3 separate regions of the Homo sapiens genome follow, and regions 2 and 3 are each linked to region 1. Evidence: promoter capture Hi-C in human tissues and cell types (Jung and others, 2019). All regions are on one chromosome and are shown on one strand. Each heading gives the region's core, a stretch centred on a gene start or on the middle of the fragment in contact. The rest is flanking DNA. Distances are from core to core; before and after follow the strand shown.

The links. The method cuts DNA at HindIII sites, captures the fragments that hold promoters and counts their contacts. A contact is called where the count stands out against the background at its distance.
Region 2: a contact is called between a fragment that was not itself captured here and the fragment with the promoter of NCAM1 in region 1, in 1 of the 25 tissues and cell types used here (dorsolateral prefrontal cortex).
Region 3: a contact is called between a fragment that was not itself captured here and the fragment with the promoter of NCAM1 in region 1, in 1 of the 25 tissues and cell types used here (dorsolateral prefrontal cortex).

The regions. Positions count from the first base shown.
Region 1 is chr11:112,959,428-112,964,271 of GRCh38, forward strand. It overlaps NCAM1 (neural cell adhesion molecule 1), which reads left to right and starts at 1,993. Exons shown (of 20, transcript NM_181351.5): 1 at 1,993-2,237. The coding sequence starts at 2,186. NCAM1-AS2 (NCAM1 antisense RNA 2) reads right to left here and starts at 4,033. Exons shown (of 3, transcript NR_120563.1): 1 at 3,783-4,033; 2 at 1,940-2,049; 3 at 1-1,424. RefSeq lists an enhancer at 1,936-2,713. The HindIII fragment of the contact is 9,849 bases long and covers 1-4,844 here.
Region 2 is chr11:113,120,603-113,125,446 of GRCh38, forward strand. The region is part of intron 1 of NCAM1 (neural cell adhesion molecule 1); the gene reads left to right. Among named protein-coding and RNA genes, the nearest start is that of NCAM1-AS1, 150 kb to the right of the region's middle. The HindIII fragment of the contact is 5,670 bases long and covers 1-4,844 here.
Region 3 is chr11:113,093,455-113,098,298 of GRCh38, forward strand. The region is part of intron 1 of NCAM1 (neural cell adhesion molecule 1); the gene reads left to right. Among named protein-coding and RNA genes, the nearest start is that of NCAM1-AS2, 130 kb to the left of the region's middle. The HindIII fragment of the contact is 3,283 bases long and covers 748-4,030 here.

The DNA.
Region 1 (4,844 bases), core at 743-3,242:
CAAATATTTGTTGAAAGATGTTCAAAAAAGCCTTATTTATATTATCAAACTCCACAAACAATATAAATATGCAAAAATGGGGAAACCATTGCAAAATCATCCATATGAAGAAATATTACATAGCTATAAAAATATCTAGAAAAGCTTTTTAATGATCCAGAGGAATAAATGCTTATACTGATGTTAGGCAAAATCAGCAGGATTCAAATTGCTACTATAATATGTCAATTATAAAAATCATATGCACATACAGAAGACAAAATCTATGAGTATCTCTGGAATCTGTGGGATTTGGGGTTATTTTTAGTTCTTTCTACTTTTCTGTACTTTTGAATTGTTTATACTTGGAATGAGAGAAATAGCCCAAAGTAAACGTTGTGGAAGATTTACTTGGGGGAAGAAATACTTTTCAGGGGTCCAAGCTAATTACACTGTACTGGTGTGGCCCACTTGGTCTATTATAGAGGAGGAAAGTGGGGAAGAGATGGGGCCTGTCCAATAAGGATGGATGTCCTGACAGTAGAGGATGGACTTTTAAAAACTGCTACAGCGGCTGGGTGCGGTAGCTCACGGCTGTAATCCTAGCACTTTGGGAGGCTGAGGTGGGCAGATCACGAGGTCAGGAGTTCGAGACCGGCCTGACCAACATGGTGAAACACCGTCTCTACTAAAAATACAAAAATTAGCTGGGCGTGGTGGCGCGCGCCTGTAATCCCAGCTACTCAGGAGGCTGAGGCAGCAGAATCGCTTGAACCGGGAGCAGAGGTTGCAGTGAGCAGAGATGGCGCCACTGCACTGCAGCCTGGGCGACAGAGCGAGGCTCCATCTCAAAAAAACAAAACAGAAACAAAACAAAACAAAACAAAACAAAAAACCTGCTACAGGAGTGGGGAGGCCGACCTTTGAAGAAAAACGGAGTACCCGGTAACATTAGTGCTTTAATGCCTTTGAACTTATGCAGACTTCCTCTGTTAGAGGGTTTCAGTGTTCTAGGCTAATGGGTTAACCTGACATCTAGAACACCTTTCTCACATTAGTTCCTTACATACCCAAGCCTTCAGGTGCTGAGACATGATTCTTTTCACCCCGCTTTCTCCACCCCCTACTTTTGAAAACACGGGTGGAATTTTAATTAAAGCCTATTGTGTTGGTACCTCAGTAATATTATACATTAATATCTTTAAGAATTAAGGTCACGTCCCCATGTAAGAAAATATTATTTAATGACGCTTCTATATCATAATACCTATATAAAAGCCTGGCTATTTTAATAAAGAGACCACAGATTTCAGAATTTATAAACAGGAAAACATTTTCTTCGGGTTATTTCTGGAAATCTCTTCCAAACATCGGAGTTTTCTTCTAACTTAAGTCTCTTCCCACCTCCTTCCCAGGGGATCTGCTGAAGGGTGTTGTATGTCTCTCTGTGGGAGAGCAAACTTCACAGTTAGGATAAAACAAACAAACAAACAATATCCAAACAACACCCAGCAACGGCAACCCCCATCCCTCTCCAAAGTTCTAATTTCCCGCACTTAAAGTCCTGGGCTATCCTTGTGTTGCAAGGATCTTAGAATCGAAATGGAGGGATTTGACAACTTTACCTAACCAAATCTAAAATTTTGCTTTTATTATTTACTAGTTATCAAAATATGCAAACTGCTGATTAAGGAAGGCTGGGTAGCAGGAGCGCCTGCGAAGGCGTAGGGTAGAAGTGTGAAAAGAAATCCCAGCTCTCCCAGGGAGACTGCGTGTGAAAGAGCCCGGCTCCCCCAAAAGCTCCAGGCCGCGTTTTGCAGGCTTCCGCATCTGCCTCCCCTGTCTCTCTTACCTCCTTGATGTTCGGCACTATTTGTGGCCGGCGTGGTGGAAGGACACAGTGAGGTTCTCACCCCCGCCCCCCGCTCCTCGCTCCCATCCCAGTTCCATCAAAACGAACCCGGGCCAGCGCAAGGATCTCCGAGTTGCGAGTGTGCTGAGGCTGGGACTGTCACTCATTCTCCGATCAGCGCGTGAACGCAGCTCGGCTGCCGCTGGCAGGAAACAATTCTGCAAAAATAATCATACTCAGCCTGGCAATTGTCTGCCCCTAGGTCTGTCGCTCAGCCGCCGTCCACACTCGCTGCAGGGGGGGGGGCACAGAATTTACCGCGGCAAGAACATCCCTCCCAGCCAGCAGATTACAATGCTGCAAACTAAGGATCTCATCTGGACTTTGTTTTTCCTGGGAACTGCAGGTACATTTTTTTTTTTTTTAATTCTCAATCTGGTTTGCTAATTACCCCTTCCTCCTACTCCTAGGAGGAACGCTATTATTTTGGGTGGTTTTACGTGGACTGCTAAGGCTGGTCATTTTCGTTTAGCTGTGAAAGGAGCGCGTCGCCCTTGCTGCCCAGCCGAACCCCGCTCCCTCCAGGGCTGCGCTGCACGGGGCTGCCTCCCCGAGCCGCCAGCGCCCGGCGCCCCTCCGGCGCGTCCGCCCTTCCCACTTTGTGCGCCCGCGGCGGTGGGAGCAGAGCCGGCCGGCTCCTGGGGACTCAGCGGCCGCGCTGGTGATGGGCAGCGCTCCTTCCCCAAAGGCGGGCGGCGGGGCGGGGGAGGTCGCGGCTCGGGTGGTGCCGCCGCACGGGCTCGGATTCCGAGGGGGAAGTGGCTTGTCAGCCCCGGCTCCGGGAAGAGTGAACAATAAGGCTAGGGCAGCCGCCCCAGATCGTTATATTCCTGGGTCTAATAAAGTCAGGATCGCTGCTTTGCTTCCCCCGCCCCAGAAGAATAACGGTTTGCAAAATGGGGCAAAATGGGCAGAATCGCACGGCCGTTGTTGTTGGTGTGACCGTTGTTGCACCCCAGTCGACATGACGTTAGTTTTTCATTTGCCAAATTGCTGGTTAGTTGCAAAGCCTACCCTCGGCCGCGAGCACTGAAGGATGGGAGGGTCGAGCGCCGCGTTTTGACAGGAGGAAGTGCGGAGGGGCGGAGGGCGAGGAGGGCGTGATTGGGGCTGCCTGGTGTGTGCGCGCGCGTGTGCGCGCGTGTGTCTTTACACGCGCCGCGTGCCCAGTGTTGCACGGGGCGGGAGAAGAATGGCAGGTAGCCGCCCGAAACACCTCGCCCTGTCTCCTTTCTTTGGGCGAGGTTCCCGATCCTGGCAAAGTGTGAACAATAGGGAGCTGGGAGGAAGACAGTAGTGATGCTGCCGCGGGTGGCGGGGGTTGCGCCGCCGCCCAGAGAACCTCGGCAGTGTGCAGGGAGGTGCATTTCATTTTGGCTATTTCCATCCCGGCCTCCCTGGAAAATTCTTCTGTGCGTGCCCACCCTCCCCTCCAGCTGTCATCCCCCCACCTCCACCCAAGGATTTGCGCTTTGGCTCTGATGGACGGGAGGGAAGGAAGAAAAGCAGGGGCCGCAGAGAGCTGGGTGGGTTGGGCGGACATTCTGGGCGGGGGGCGTGTGCTGGGAAGCGATCGAGGAAAGCCGGGCGGAGGGGCTGTGTGTCGCGGTCGCAGCTCCAGGTACCGTTGTACCTGCCCTGGACGGCCGACCCCCGGTTGGGGAGCGCACGGGGCGGGCCAGGGAGCACCCAGTGCGCCCCCTCCGCGGGCGGCACAAGAGCAGCGCTCGGCCGCCGCCTCCAGCCAACTCGGGTCCCTCCCACGGCGACCAATCAGTGCGAAGCTGGCTGGGCGGGAAGCCGCGAGAGGCTTTTATTGCGGCGCGGGTGGCGGCCAGGAGCTGCCAGGACAGTCTCCCGGTGCTTCAGCCTAACGGTCTCGCTCACTCACCGCCAAGAGAAACCCCGCCCTGCGGCCGGTCCCCCGCCTGCCCGGCAGTTTCCGAGGAAATAAAATGGAGACTAGGTGGTCACCGGGAGTGCTCCTGGTCCGGCCGCCCGTGCTCGCCCACTCTCGCCTCTTTCACGCCGACTTGGAGCATCCCACCGCCCCCGCCAGCGCTCACTCTCGCGCCGCGGAATCCGGGCCTGAGCGCGTCGCCGGGGAGGGCATCCTGGCAGGCACACCTACGCGCGTGCGCTGACCGGCCGACCGCGGGCCGGGGGCTCTACTGACGGCGGGGCGGGGCCGTGGCAGGGCCCGGAGAGGAGGGGTGGGGACCAAGCCTAGTCCGCCTGGCCCTGGGTCTCCGCTGCCACCTGGGCGGGGGCCACCCCGGTTATGCCCCTTTCCGCGGTGCCCGTGGGTGCCGCGACGCGACCTGTCCACATGGGGCGGGGGAAGGGGGGTGTTTTTGAGACATCCTCGCCCCCGGGTGGGAGCGTGACAATGGAGCCCGGATATTTGGTGGGCCTTTTGGGGGATCGCCTGGCGGTCCTTTCCATCATCGTGATGGGTACAGTCATCAGTATTTGGATCCCGTGGAAGTTGCAGGCCCAGGAATTCCCACTGGGATGTTCCTGGATGCCCAGGCAGGGGAGGCATTCTAACCAGTGTTCCCTGGAATGAAAGCGACCTCTTTCCTGGCCCGGTACCTTGAGGATGGGAAGAAGGCAGAACGTGAAACACATACAAGGTTGCTTAACAAAAGAAAGAAGTTGAATGGTTTTCCAAAGAGAAATAATTTCCCATTAAAATGTCTTTTGTACCATAGTTTTTTTTTAAAAAAATCAAAGAATTCAAGTCAAAGGGTTAGAATGAAAATGAAAACATAACAACAAGTATATATACATATGTATATATATCTGAGGTTTTTTTTTTGTTTTTTTTTTTTTTGTTTTTTTTTTGGACTCAAATGTAGCATGTCCAGGGCAGTGGTAACTGAGTTTGTGTGCTCGGCTGGGTGCATATGAAAATTTACATATAAGGCAAGCTAACCTTAATACGTCAAGT
Region 2 (4,844 bases), core at 1,023-3,522, 160 kb after region 1:
GGAATCAGTGAAAGAGGCAAACACCATGGCTACAGAAAGGGGGTGATCTCCTTTCTCCTCATCATAAGGGATCACAGCTGACACCCTTGTAACAAAAGACAGGTTAACAAGAGAAAAGAATAACAAATGGATTGCATGCACATATGTGCACAGGAATCATACAAAATACGAAAACTCGAAGAAAATGCCAGAGGGTTGATACTTAAATCCCTTAAATGCCCTCTTCATTGGGGAGAGGGAAGGAGGGCAGCGAGGGCTGTAAATGAATGAGGCTGAAGACCAGTCAATGGTTTGTACATGATGCTGTTTGGGAATTGAATGGGACCTGAGAACAGAGGATGGTTTGGGATGATTAGCTAGGCTCTAGGTGTGATGTTTAATTTTCAGTCTCTTCCTCTGTGATATGAGTTTTCATCTTTCCTGGTTAATGAAATTTCAGGGAAGCGATTGAAGGCAATTGTGTCTTTAGGGGTCCAGTTTCTGGGTAGATAAGGAAACTTCAAAGAACTGTGTGATCCTGTGCTTTGGGAGAGACAGAGGATTAGGGGGGTGGCCTCCTTAGTTCAGCATGTTAAAGTGCCATATTTTGGGATATCATTTTCTGAGCTCCAACAACACCAATCTTTTTTTTTTTTTTTGAGACAGTCTTGTTCTGTCACCCAGGCTGGAGTGCAGTGATATGAGCTCGGCTTACTGCAACCTCTGCCCCCCAGGTTCAAGTGATTCTCATGCCTCAGTCTCCCAAGTAGCTGGGACTGCAGGTGCATGCCACTACACCCCGCTAATTTTTGAATTTTTGGTAAAGATGGGATTTCACCATGTTGGCTAGGCTGGTCTCGAACTCCTGACCTCAGGTGATCCCCCTGCCTCGTCCTCCCAAAGTGTTAAGATTACAGGCATGAGCCACTGTGCCTGGCCAACACCACCAATCTTACAAAAAAAAAAAAAAAAAAAAAGGCACTGTACTCCAGAAAGGGGCTTTTGAGAAGAATAACAATGATCCCCCTCAAAAAGGAGACAGGAGTAGAATTTACTGTGGATTTCGGAGTTATTATCCCCAACACTCCAGAGGCTCCTTCTTATCTTGGTCAGACTTCATGAGTTTCAAGATCCTTCTCCAGGAAAATAGAATCAACTCAGAAACTAGGAATGGAGACAAAATCCATTCCTTTGGGTGCCTATCCAGAGATTTTTGAGTTGTCTGTAAATGTGGACCTATTTACTGTGTAATGTCTTTTTCTCTACAAGCAACTATTTAGAAAACATGGCAGTGCTTCCATTGGCAAATGTAAAGCAGATCTTAAATTCTTATCTGGTCCACATCACAGCTGTGGTCTTGCTTTGCACTGATTCCTGTCTCAGGTTGATTTTATTATACTGAGGAGATAAGGCTCGGTGTGGATGGAATCAGTGAAGAAAGCAAACACCATGGAGGCAGAAAGGGGGTAATCTAGTCTATTTCAGTCTATTCCAAGTGCCCTTACACATCTCTCTAAGCCCATAACAGTTGCCTGGTGTCATCAGCTTGCCTTCAGATCCCATCCCCTCCTGTTCAATCTCTAGGTCCTTTTGCAGAACTCAGTGTTTTTGTGAGAGCAAAACTTTCAGAAAGAAGTTATTTAATCTTTGAAAGCTGTTGAAACTGGTTTATCGACTAGTCTGAACCCAGTAGAAGTTCAGTAGTTTTATTTTTCTCCACTCAGTGTATTAACTGCACTGTATTAAATCTCTCTTCTCCATAAGTAACAGGAAGGCTGGGATCTTTGTTTCATTCATTAGTGTCATTGTCACTCAAGTGCCTAAAATGGTGACTGACACATGGTGGATCCTCAAAAAAGATGTATTAAATTGAACATTTTTGGTGGAACCTCACTTGTTTTCATTAATTAAAAAGAAACTCGCCGGGCATGGTGGCTCATGCCTGTAATCCCAGCACTTTGGGAGGCCGAGGCAGGCGGATCACCTGAGGTCGGGAGTTTGAGACCAGCCTAACTAACGTGTAGAAACCCCATCTCTACTAAAATACAAAAAATTAGCCAGGCATGGTAGTGCATGTCTGTAATCCCAGCTATTCGGGAGGCTGAGGCAAGGGAATTGCTTGGACCCAGGAGGCAGTGGTTACAGTGAGCCGAGATTGCACCGTTGCACTCCAGCCTGGGCAACAAGAGCGAAACTCCGTCTCAAAAAAATAATAATAATAAAAAGGAACTCAGGGTTGTCTAGTTTAAAGCACCATTCTCATATTCTTTGTAAATCTCATCTTTTCCATTCCCTCCAGCACCTGCCTTCTTTAGTTTTAAAAGGACTTGGATGGACCTGGAGGTCATTCTGTTAAGTGAAGTAAGTCAGGGACAGAAAGACAAATATTGTATGTTCTCACTCATATGTGGGAGCTAAAAAATGTTGATCTCAAGGAGGTAGAGAGTAGAATGATGGTTACCAGAGGCAGGGAAGGGTGTGTGTAGGTGGAGGAAGGAAGAGGGGAAGAATAGGTTGGTTAATGGATACAAACATACAGTTAGGTAGAAGCAATAAATGTTAGTTTTGGGTAGCACAGTAGGGTGATGACAGTTAGCAACAATATATATTTCAAAATAGTTAGAAGATTTGAAATATTCCCAACACAAAGAAATGATAAACGTTCCTGGCGATGGATAATCTAAACACCCTGGTTTGATCATTACATATTGTATGTATGCATCAAAATATCACATGTACCCCATACATATGTACAAATATTAATGTATCAATTTCAAAATAAAAATAAAAGACTTGGATTGGGGAGGGGGTGCTTACTCTTTCCATCTTCCTCCCCTTCCCTTGCCTTGGAAAAGGGTAAAGGAATTTGATTTAGTTCTGGGACACTCTTACTCTGTTCTTCTTCTCATTCTCCTTCCCTTCCTGTATTTTAGGGTGGGGCGGAGATAGTGTCTCTCACACCACTGACCATGGCTGCCATCCTCTCTCTGGAGATGTGCCTGCTTCTGTGGTACCCCTGACTGGTGGTGGGTGCCTGCCAGGTGGGAGACATCCAAATACTGGCCTTTTCATGGTACTCAAGGGAGGTCTCCTTAGAGCCCCTTCAGGGGACTCCCTGTCCTGTGTTTCCTGGCTGTAGGAGATACAATGTCAACCCGGCTTTATCAAGCCACCCCTCAGCTCCGCTCCTGGTGGTACAGCCCACAGCCTTTCCTTCCTGAGCTCCCTTGACATGCAGGCTGCCCCCTTGAGTAGGACCCTGGCAAAGGGATGTAGACCCACTGGTGCTTGGGAAGCTCGCTCATCCTAGCCTTTGCTAGATGGTTCCTGACCCCTCTTGCCCTACCATTTCTCTCCAATTCACTTTTTGCCTGCTCAGGGTGGTTGGGGGACTCAGGGCTGATCAGCAAAGCGGCTGACCCTGCAGTCATCCAGCTGGGAAGCAGGATGCCAGGTTCTCCTTCAAGCTGGCTCCTCCAAAGTAATTCTCTTAGATAGTCACCTTTCTCTTGCTTTAGTTGAAAGAAAGGATAACAATGCTAGGGAAAGAAGAAGGGAAAGCTGTAGCTACTCTCACTAGGCAGAAGACCCGGAGCTAATTCCACCTGCTGTCTTCTTTGTCTTCTCTAGACTGAGAAGGAGGAAGGAGGGGCAAGTGGGGAGTGTGGTGTCGCAGGACTATTCTACCATCTCCCTAAGCTTTTCCGGAGGTGTCTTTTCTCAATCATTAGTACTCTGTAGACTGCAGTGCACTTGCCCATCTCTTTGACCTTAGCTTTGCTTCCTTGGTCACCAACATAGGGCAACAGAACAAGTCCTACTCAGGACTCTGCTGCACAGCTAAAGAAACAGATCTCCACCTCTCTTTTCTGACACTTTTAAATCCAGCCAAGCAGGGGCTGACAGCGCCATAGCTAAGTCCCTCTCTGTACAGTAGAGTGGCTGCTGTGTGTTTACAGTCACAAGATATTTCTGAATTCTTTGCTTTTAGTCTTGCGGTTCATTACATATGGGAAACTGAGGTGTATTTCATTCTTTGGCATAGCTCCTGATGATAACTATTTATTTTGGAAGGGCTTTCCTTGGATTATAACTTATCAAAAGATACCAGAGCAATAAGGTATAATACGTCAAGGAAAAAAGAATTCCCATTTTTCCTGTGTGTGTTCATTGGGCTCTCACTACAGCATTCAAGTCAGTATAAGACACGTTTACTGACAGCTGGATTACTCCGGGTCTGGCAAAAGAGCTTGAATCGACACTTCTGCTAAATTTCTCAGCAGTACATTGAATGTATATTTAACGTGTGTCATAAAGATGTGTGCAGATTGCTTGAGGCCGTCCGTCATTAAAGGCCTGAATGTATACCATTAGCCATCACACTGGTGGTACCTCCAATATAATTGAAAAAGGTTTAGCAATATATGAGCATATGTAATGTTTGTCATTTCTATTAGTACTCTAATTAAATCAGCCTTCTAATCAGACAACTTATAAAATCGTAAGTAATATGATTAGAGCAATATAGGATGCCACCCTCGTATTCTGAAGCACAGTTGGGTAGTAACTTTTTGATATTGTTTTGATGAATGGATGGCTTTGCTCAGTAAGCAGGTAGTCCAGTGTTGAGATTCTGACAAAGCTGGCTTTCTCTGAGTCCTCTAAAGATTCCAGGCAAGGCGGTTTCCACTGTTACACCTATTAAGGAATGGACCACGTTTCCTCTGTAATGATTGCAGCAGTATCTTAGAAATTCTAAACCCTAACACCATTTCCTCCAGAAAAATACCAGCATATTTCATTTATAAGAAAAATGGTTGTAGATAAATCAATAGAAATCTCAATTATATTTATTAATGAACAGG
Region 3 (4,844 bases), core at 1,139-3,638, 130 kb after region 1:
TCACATCCTGGTCTTCCTCCTTCCTCCGGCCCCACAACTCTCATTCAGCTGTGTTGTGAAGGTTCCACAACCCCTTTAAGGTTTATGGTCTTATGAAGCACAGCTGGATAGAGGTTCTTTATTCTTAAGCCTTTGGAAGGCTTCCCTTTGAAAGTTTACGAACGCCCCATCTCTTTTCTCTAGGTAGGAACATTAGGAGCAGATTTAGTGGAAGTGAGGCATGCTCAGTATCTACCAACACAATCAGGTACATGGAAGTCATTCCATTTCTGACTGCAGGGATTGTTTCCCATTCTTTTACTTAAAAGCAAGTAAGCAGATGGATTGGAGCAAATAACAATAGTCAAGGTCCTCTGCAGACTGGTGGAAGCACTCAGGAATGGCCTCCCATCCCTGTGGGCCATGAAGTCATTACATTCTCCTGATGTTCTGCCTTCGCTCTGTGGTCTTCCAGACCAGTTGGAAGCTGCAGTGTGCTGTGCTTCTCTGCAGGAGCTCCCCTTCAACTCCCACCCCTGAACAAACACACCTGCAAGCTGCTTTAGTGGCTGTTCCATCTGTGGCTTTAAGGATAGATAAAACAATCAATAGCAGATAAGTGGTATCATGCTGCTTCAAATACAGAGGGAAACATAGGGTCCCCTTTAGACAGTTAAGACGGCAGCTGCAAAAATGAACAGCAATGACTTGGGGGAGGGACCAATCTGACATCTGTTGACCATTTGGCCAGTAGGTAGTGGTGAACCAAAGAGGTAACTTAAACAAGTTCAGAATCCAAGAAAAAAAGGTTGAATTGATTTGGATATCAGAATAGGGGAAAACATTCTATCGTTTGGCACCATTTTGATCAGAGTTAGACGATAGACATCAGGCTGATTTGTCAGAATCACTGTAGAGATGATGGGTTTTGTGTTTTTGAATAGGCAGCTTTGGGGTGCTTTGTACACCTTCACATAGCTGGCCATTTCACCTTCAGAGATTGAACTACATTGTTCCCTTAGTCTTCCTCATTGTCATAGAACAGAGAAGTTTTTCATTTGCTGTGCTTGTGAAACCTTAAGGCTTTTCCATTGCTCTTCCACCCTCAATCCTGCATTTCTCACTCCTCCTCTGGCAAAAGGCTTATTGAGGCCCATGTCTGGGTGTCATTCCATGTTTCACAAGCACTTAGGGCTTGTAATTCGCTGCTGTGGCCCCACACTCTTGTTAACTGCCCCCTGTCTGGGGTCTATTTTTCAGGCCAAGGCTCTACCAGTCCATGCTAATGAGCCAGCGGCAGATAGGTCAGCAAGGGCATCTGGGCTATCTGAATTGGAATTAAGGGAGAACAGATTTGTTGTTGTTGTTGACTGTCAAACAACTCTGTTAGCTGTGGCCTAAGTCTTTTCTAAGTCACATTGACAAGAACGAAAAATGTCGAAAGGAAAATCTTTAATATTAAATCATATTTATTTCATATGCAAACAGCCATAGGTGTATTTTTATATGAGGGCTTTTATAAATAGGGAAAATAGTATCGGGTTTTGAATGATTAATTATTTTATATTTCTCTTATTCAAGCTTCTAGACCGCTTACAGAAAATGAGACCTTCGAGTTCTTGCAGTTAAGATTTCCTCATAACCTTGAGCACTGAAAGAAACTAAATCTTGATATTTCATGGAGTTTTTATCAAAACTCAATAATTTTGTAAAGAGAATATGATTGAAGAGCGGCAGTATAGCTGATCCATCATAAATTAACATTAACTAAGTACTCATGAGGGATTTGTGCTGTGTCTTTAATTCCTTCCAAAACAAATGACGACATTCTCAGCTTTGCATTGTCCTCTGATATAGCACTGACCTTGCTGTAATAGAATGCGTGTGTGTGTGTGTGTATATGTATGTGCTTATCTAACTCATAGACTGAGCATCTAAGATGAGTTTACCCAGCTTTCAGCACAGTGGTCGATAATCAGTGGTTAATCAGTGCTGAGCAAATGAATAGCTACACAGTCCAGCAATTGCTTGGATGTGGTTCTTTTAACGCAGGCAGCCCATATTCAGGCCAACTCTGTGAAAAGGCACTGGCTCCTCCCAGGGGTCCTGAAACATACTAGGGAAGCCATGGGGGGACCACACCGAGCTAAGACTCGCCAAATCCCTTCTCCAGAAACTGGAAACCATTCAATTAATAGCAATAGCTGACGTTTTCTGAGTTCTCATTTCATTTTATCCTTACAACAATCTTACAAGGCAGATTTTATTAATCCCATTTTACAGATGAAGAAACTGGGTCTTAAGGAGGCTAAATTTAAGTTGGGAGCCAGTTGGATTAGCCTTGTGCTTTAGCCCCAGACATTCTGGGTTCACAGCCTGTGCCTCACCTCCTACCGACTGTGTGACCTTGAGCAAATTCCTGTCATCTGCCAGTGCCTCAGTTTCTGTTTCTGTAGAATGAATAATAATAGCTGTTTTTAAAAATCTGCTGCAAGGATTAAATAAAATGACGTAAATGGAATATCTAGTATAATGTCTGAGACAGGGTAAACATTTAGTGTTTTTATTATAATTAATTATTGCTATTAGGCCCACAGGAATTCAGACACAGACCTGTCAGGCTCTGAAGGAGGTCTGTAAGCAAGACTTGGCAAGGTCAGGTCTGACTTCAGGAAGTGCACTGGGGTCACAGAGCAAAGGATGGCCTGGCTTGGGATAGCTATTGACTGTGAGAGAAGTGGGCACTTACCTAACAACTCCAGGCTGAGCTGGGTCTCCAGCAGTGGGATACCAAGTGGGGGTGGTGGAGTTGAACTTGAGATACCTTTCTGAAATAGAATTGACAAAATGTGTTATCAGTTAAAAATAGGGAATGAGAGACAGAGAAAAATTAATGACAAGGGAGCCTGAGGAAGGGAGGAGCTACCTTTAAGAAGCAGAATAAAGGAGAGAGAATTGTCAGGGTGAACGTGAGAGATGTTAATGTGTTGTTAATGTGTTTTGTATGGTAAAGGTATACACAGGGTTGTGTGTTACGTTCAGGTTAATGCGGACAGTGGGTTTGAAATGCCAACTGCAGCCCAGCTCCGAGGTCAGGGAATGCTTCTCGATGGAAATTGAACCCTGAGTATGTTTTCTAAGCACTCTGTTCATCACTTTCCTTCTCTGTAAAAATGTGGCTATTGGACAAGATCAGGTCCCTTCTAACTCTATGCTTTTTCTGGATTTTTTAACCTTTTGTTAATTATTTCAATGCAGTGGATCCCTTTTTAACTGGCATCACTGATGACAAACCCCTGAGCCTGGGGTTCAGAGCCCTCATCCCACGACTACATCTTACTTTTCATTCTCCTATCTTGTTGCCTCAGCCATCCTAATGTAGCTAACAGAGTGACTCACCATCCCCCAGATACACCCTCATGCTTTTTTTCCAGGTTCTGCTCACAATGCTGCCTCTACCTGGAGTGTCTTCCAGCTGTCTCTCCCCTGACAAGTTTGTTACACAGCAGGCACTACTCCCTGCAAGCTCCCTTCCATGCCAGACCCTGATTACCATTTGTTGAACCCCCCCTGCCCTGTGCCAATCCCATGCTTTACAAGTATCCTATCTAATGCCCTAATGGAAAGTCTTGCAAGACGGCAGACTTCTTATCTCCATTTTATGTGGGACCAAACTGAGTCTGACATGTTAAAAAGCTTGCTGAAGCCTCAGAGTTGAGATTCCATCTTGGCTCACTCTGATTCCAAATTCCAAGCCCTTTCTACTTCTTCAAGCTGCAGGCCTTGGGCCACTTGGTAAATCTTTCTTATGGCTTTTATCTAATGTTGACTTCTGCTTTAGTGGATTCAGCATAGTTTTATTGAGCATCTTCTGTATGCCAGACACCTGCACAAATGATAACTCATTTAAGGGTAGGTTTTATGTCTTACTTCTTATATTTTTCCAAGACTTAACAGAAAGATGGTACCAAGGTAGAAATTGAGTAAGTTTGTTGAGTTCAACTGAAATGAGTAGAGTCGCTCATCTAACATAGAGAGCTATCATCAAATTAGGAGTCAACAAACATACCCTCCCGTTAGCTGAATGATCTGGTTACCTGTAGGATGACTGCCAGCTTCATTGGGAACTCTGTTAAATAGATCAGTTGAAATTTATAAGAGGTGACTTGGGCTTTTTTTTTTTTTTTTTTAACTCTTTGTTCTTAAGGTTAGTAGCTGTTTTTTAGAACATACTTTAGATAATTGTTAGTGAAAGCAATTAAATGGTTCCTTAAAGGACAAGATGAATTTATGTCAAAATAAATTGACTTATCATTAATGGACATGTATTTTGACATAAATTCCTAAAATCATGGTGGGATTACTACTATCATCATCAAGATGTATTTAAGTTGAATTTGTACAAGCTTTTGTGTTAAGTGTATGAGAAAGAAAACTATAGAGAGACTTTATTTATCTCCTGTTGCAGGGGCAATGAAGCTTTCTTCATACCTAAATATTTGAGATAGCTGAAGCTTATGCTACCAAGCGCCAAGGCCTTTTATTTTAAACATAATTTATAAACATATTTCTTAGGCAAAATGTATGAGAGAAAAATTTTCTAATATTCATGCATTGTCATAAAATTCATGACGTGGAATGTGTTCAACAAACTGAGCCCACTTAGGATACTAAGTGATCTAAGTGCCAGGTGGTGATCTAAATTCCAAGGATAAGGCAATAAATGACACAGGTACTTGGTCTCATGGAACTTCATTCTAACAGGAGGAGCATGGAATCAACAAATAAGCAAACACAGTTGTCCCTCGGTATAGAGGAGATTGATTCTAGGATTACGCCCCTTATCAGGATACCAGAATACATGG